2 separate regions of the Homo sapiens genome follow, and region 1 is linked to region 2. Evidence: promoter capture Hi-C in human tissues and cell types (Jung and others, 2019). All regions are on one chromosome and are shown on one strand. The core of a region is centred on a gene start or on the middle of the fragment in contact, and the rest is flanking DNA. Distances in the headings are between cores, read along the strand shown.

Region 1 (2,700 bases), core at 34-2,533, 41 kb before region 2:
ATGCAGGAGATCCTAGAGTGACACCTGCAAAACATTTCTAGAAAGCAATCTGTTCACGTTGGGGGCAGGGTTAACAGAGACCTCCAAGAAGGATGTTGTCACAAAATGAATGAAAATAAGAAACAACCAATGTATTTTAACATTATGAAAGGAAATTTATAATTCTCGAGGAATGTTTGAGGATGAATTAGTTATAGGTACATAGAAAAGTAAGCAAACAATATAGGCAATTATTAATTCCGGGAAAACCAAAACATATTGTATAAAAGAGGAAATGTAGTCATTGTACAATGTATGGTCATGTTGAATTAACCAAAAGTTGTGCAATGATGTAATTATATAGGGAGAAATGGAGGAGGAAAAGAATGTATGTGAATGTGTTTGTGATGGGGTGTGGTGTTGGGAGCATTATAAGAGAGCTTAATCTTCATCTTCCATAGCAGGAAGCCAAAATATATGAAACTGAACAATCTCCAAATAGCAGCAATACAAGAATGTTATTTAGGAAGACAGAGGCAAGTATGAGAAGAAACAACTAATAAAATCTTTTAAATGTTGCCTTTGAGTACTGGGGATTGGGGGTAGAAAAGGAGAAACAGTGTACTGCTTTTTTCATTATAAGCTTCATAGAATTATGTAACTTTAAAAACTCTGTACAAATATAAACTATTGTTTTAAATAAAAGAGGAAGAAACATTCAACATTTTTTTTCAAGCAATCTTTTGAAAATAAAAGGAATGCTGTGAGGAAACTGAGGGGTGTGAAAGAAAGCCTCAGCCTTAATGGGTATGTAAGACTAGAGAGCGTTAATTGCTATTCCTGTTACAAATATAATCACACGCATAAGTATTATAAAGCCAAACTATAGGGAATTGTGGACAATTATAATAGGGAAATTCAGTCTCATCTGGGGTTTGTGGAGGCTTTCCATACAGAAGCTTACAGTTTAGCTTTAGCCAAAGAGAAGCCGATAAGCAGATCATTTTAACACAAAGGTGGTAGGTAGGAATGATATGCTAAGAATGTGTAGGAGGGGCATTAAGCCCAGCTCGGATGGATGTGGTGTGGAAGGGTTTAGTGAAGGATGTAGAACAATAATCAATTGTTTCAGAAGGGTTTTGAACCTTGGCATGCATAGGTTGAAAGTTTAGAGGCAGGCTGGGCGCAGTGGCTTACACCTGTAATCCCAGCACTTTGGGAGCCCAAGGCGGGCAGATCACAAGGTTAGGAGATGGAGGCCATCCTGGCTAACACGGTGAAACCCCATTTCTACTAAAAATACAAAAAATTAGCTGGGCGTGATGGCATGCGCCTGTGATCCCAGCTACTGGGGAGGCTGAGGCAGGAGAATCGCTTGAACCTGGGAGGCAGAGGTTGCAGTGAGCCGAGATCGTGCCACTGCACTCCAGCCTAGGTGACAGAGCGAGACTCTGTCTCAAAAAAAAAAAAAGAAAGTTTAGAGGCAAATGTTTTTTGACAGCCGGAATAATACCTGGTTTTGTTTTATTTAATTTATTTATTTATAAATAAATATATGGAACACCATTATATAATATTTCTGTGATACAGACACGATAGATGTAAAGAACCTCAAGAAGATAGATAATAGTAGGATTCACTACAATAATTAGGAAGTGATAAGTTTTGAGTATTGTCTGTTTTTAATATAATTTATTTCATTATGTTATAATAAATATTCTGTTTATTTAATTTTTAATAATGGTTAACCACTGTCTCATAAAATTCCTGAATATAAGCCATCTATTCTTATGAGCCAGTATGAGCTGGCTCCAGCACTGTTGGAAATGTTATAATATCTTGAAATATTAATATTTGTGCTTTTTCTCCTCTGTACTTTTAAGGTAGGAGGCGGGACTTGATTCTAGGGGTGGGACTTGGATACTGGACTAGACTGAGGACTAGCCAAGACACTTTTTCACACTTTCTCCCTGGTGTTGCCAAGGAGAAAGCAGTTTTCAATCAGACCCACCCACCAGTGTGCCATGTCAATTTACCGTTGCCATGGCAACACCAGGGTTGTTATCACCCCTTTCCATGGTACCTAACCATTCAACAGTTACTACCCCTTTTCTGCATAAACTGCCCCTTAATCTGCATACAATTAAAAGTGGGTATAAATATGACTGCAAAACTACCCCGAGCTGCTACTCTAAGCCCTGTTCTGCGGGAGCAGTCACCGAGCTGTAACACTGACTGTTCAACAAAGCTGTTTTCTTCTTTCTCTGGATTACCCTTGAATTCTTTTCTGGGCAAGGCCAAGAACCCTCTCTGGCTAAGCTCCACTTTGGTGCTTGCCTGTCCTACATCACTTTCTTGCACTTGATCTTTTGCCTGTAACTCAGAGGTATCTATGCTGCCTTGAGAAGTATGACTGTTATAGTAGGAATGAAAATGGCAAGAAATAAAGGACCTTATTATGCATGGTAGATTAAAAATGTGCCTTCACCACTGGTTCTTCCTGAAATCCCAGTAATGTGACCTCAAAAAAGGTATAAGCCAAAAATGACCAACAGAAAGGGAGAGGAGACAACATAACAAAATTTGAAGAATGGAAGCAGGGGAATAAGTGAGAACAAATATTCCCATCTAGAGAAAATTCAGATCTAAACTTGAAGAGGAGGAGGGTAATAACAAGCTGATTCATGCTGTGAATCACCCCAAAAGCTCAGGAATGGGGGG
Region 2 (2,700 bases), core at 129-2,628:
TAAATCAATAAATAAAAGCAGTGTGTTACTGCAATGAGCATTGTTATATAAATACACAGTCTTCCACAGAAGTTACAGCACTAGACAGGAAGTTATGGATCTGACTAATTGAGGCTTTCACCTCTGACTCAGTGTGTGACTCTGGCAAGTGACCTAATGGCTCCAAGCTACAGATTTTCCAATGGTAAAAGAGAGGAAAACAGGTATCCAACATATTCCACCAGGACATACTGAGAATATAATAATAACAATAAATAAATACACATTTTAAGTTCTTGCAATACTTAAGAGGAAAGGTACTACAAGAAACCAAGATATTTTTCTTAGTGTCACCATAATTTCAGTATCAACAGATATGCATTAGGAGCCAAATATTCTAGACATTATGGGATTACAACAGAACAGATGAAAACAAATCTCTGCTAGTCTCTGTTTTATAGGCTATTATGGACAAGGTCAGTTTCAGTGGTCAACACAGAGCTTATTTAACAGAACATCAAAATGGGGGTGAACGTTAGAGCTCACCTGGATTTTATATATATATATATATATATATATATATATATATATATATATATATATATGTATGTATGAGAGACAGAGAGAGATCCAAAAGGGGTTAATAATACGGAAACAACTGTCCTCAAAGAAAAGAACCGGCTCTGGGTTTGAGTCTCAGTGGAAGAGTTTACCATCTGTGCGACCTGGGGCCAGTCACTTAGCTTTTCCAAGCCAATTTCCTTCCCTCTAAAATAGTGATAGTAACGATCTACTTCAAAGCGCTCGTGCTTGAAAAACTTTAATCCAGTGGCTGGCTAAGCACCAGAAGTCAACTATTACTATTGTTATCGCTGCAGGAGCAAGGTATTTTCTGGCTCTTTCTCTATAAGAAAAACCACTGTTTCTCCAGTTAGGCTGCATTCATGAGGCCGAAGCAGAAACCCAAGTGCTTTAAAAAGCTCGGAGACCGGTGCTGCAGAAACATGAACCCAGTCATCCAGGGCTTTGGTTAAAGCACAGCCCCCTCGGCAAAGCCCACCTTTCATTTCCTTCCCTTCCATTTCGGGAAAGCCAAGCTCCCCCTACGCGTTCGGTTATCTTATTTTCTTGCCTCGCCAGGTCGCTGGCCTGTCTCTGGCTTCTCTCCGCGACCTCTCGGTCGTGCAGGCTCCGCGGCAGCGAAGCGGCTGGGGCTGGCGCCTCGCTTCCTCAGCGCTCCATTCTTCCCCTCGGCTCCCGCCGGCCGCAGCCGCCTTCCGCAGCCGGGGTTCCCGCCGGGATTGACGCGCTGGGGGAGGAGCGGTTTCTCGTTGCGCGCCTCTAAGGAACATTACGGCAGGGCTCGTTCCTGGCTCCGGCCGCCAGCCCCAGCCTCCCAGGTCCGGAGCCCGGACTGGCGGAGGCCGCGAGGGAGGGAGCACGAGCGAGGAGGCACGCGCCCGCCGGTCCGCACCCGGCCCGCCGCAGCCGCCGCCGCCGTCGCCGTCGCCGCAGCAGCCATGGCCGAGCGCCGCGCCTTCGCCCAGAAGATCAGCAGGTAAATATCCGGCGTGGGGCGCGCCGCCGCCGCCGCCCGAGAAAGAGCCGCGGAGTCCTCCCAGGCCTGGCCTAGGAGGCGGGTGGGTGTGGCGGGGCCGGCACCGGGATCCCGCGGCCTGGCTCGCGGCGGGGCGGAAGGGGTTCGGGGTGGCTGAGGGGGTAGCGGAGGCCTCGCGCCGCCCTCGAACCCCGGCCTTCAGCCCGCGCCCGCCGCTGAGCCTCGGCAGGGAGCGGAGAGGGCCGCGGACTCCAGCGCGCCCGCCTCCTCCTGCTCCTCGGCGGCCCGGGCCTGGACTTCTGCGGAGGTTTATGGAAGGGCGGTCGGCCGCTTCCCAAATTCTTTGTGTTCCCACCCCCGGGCTCGTCGGGGGCCGCCGCGGCGTTTCGCCCCCTCCCGTCTCTCCGCCCACCCCTCTTGGCCCCTAGAGGGTGCGGGGTCCGCCCTCCTCCACCCCAACAAAAGGAGAAACGCGCGGCGGCTCGGGGCGGGTGGGAGGCCGCCCCTCCTTCACGCGTCTCTCTCTTCCTGAGAAATCTGACAGGAACCCTCTTTGCACCCTCGGGCCAGGTTCAAAGTGGACTTGTGCGTCCAGGATTGAAAACGTGTGGACAGAATGAAAAGTTGAGAGCTGCGGGCTGCACCTTCGGTGTGCAGCTGCCGAATCCCTGACGGATTGCAGGCTGAAGCTTGTTCTGAGTTCGCCTGTGAATTTAACTGTGCGCCTGTGTTTCTCAGAGCACCCGAGAAGATGGATGATAGGCAGTGTTCTTTATACACTGACATCCTTTTATATGTTAGCAGTCTTGAAGTAAAGCAAGTGATTGCAGTCTTGAAGTAAAGCAAGTGATTGAGGTGGAGGTTTCAAAGCCTTTCACCTACTTGTGGTGGTTGGTTGCCACCTTTCTCCCACCCGCCAAATAAAAATTAAATGACAGAGGACTCTAATATTTGTAGAATTTCTTTGTGGAGTATACTTATGTATGAGACAGTAGACATTTTTGTTTTAATAAAATCATATTTGTGTGAATTATGATGTCCCAAGAAAAGAAGCATTCATATTAAATTACCTTTTTTTGTTTTGGGGCAGTTGTAGTTCTGTGGCTCTGAGTCTTTTTAGTTTGCTGACATTTCTTTAAAAATTTTGGGCCGGATGCAGTGGC

The links. Contacts are between HindIII fragments. The study calls those that stand out against the background at their distance.
Region 1: a contact is called between a fragment that was not itself captured here and the fragment with the promoter of DOCK7 in region 2, in 6 of the 25 tissues and cell types used here (IMR-90 fibroblasts, bladder, heart right ventricle and 3 more).

Annotation. Positions count from the first base shown.
Region 1 is chr1:62,727,531-62,730,230 of GRCh38, reverse strand. No RefSeq gene overlaps it. Among named protein-coding and RNA genes, the nearest start is that of DOCK7-DT, 40 kb to the right of the region's middle. The HindIII fragment of the contact is 3,222 bases long and covers 1-2,700 here.
Region 2 is chr1:62,687,064-62,689,763 of GRCh38, reverse strand. DOCK7 (dedicator of cytokinesis 7) reads left to right here and starts at 1,378. Exons shown (of 50, transcript NM_001367561.1): 1 at 1,378-1,537. The coding sequence starts at 1,500. DOCK7-DT (DOCK7 divergent transcript) reads right to left here and starts at 1,282. Exons shown (of 2, transcript NR_185999.1): 1 at 1,112-1,282. RefSeq lists an enhancer at 1-266 and a silencer at 1,276-2,025. The HindIII fragment of the contact is 7,491 bases long and covers 1-2,700 here.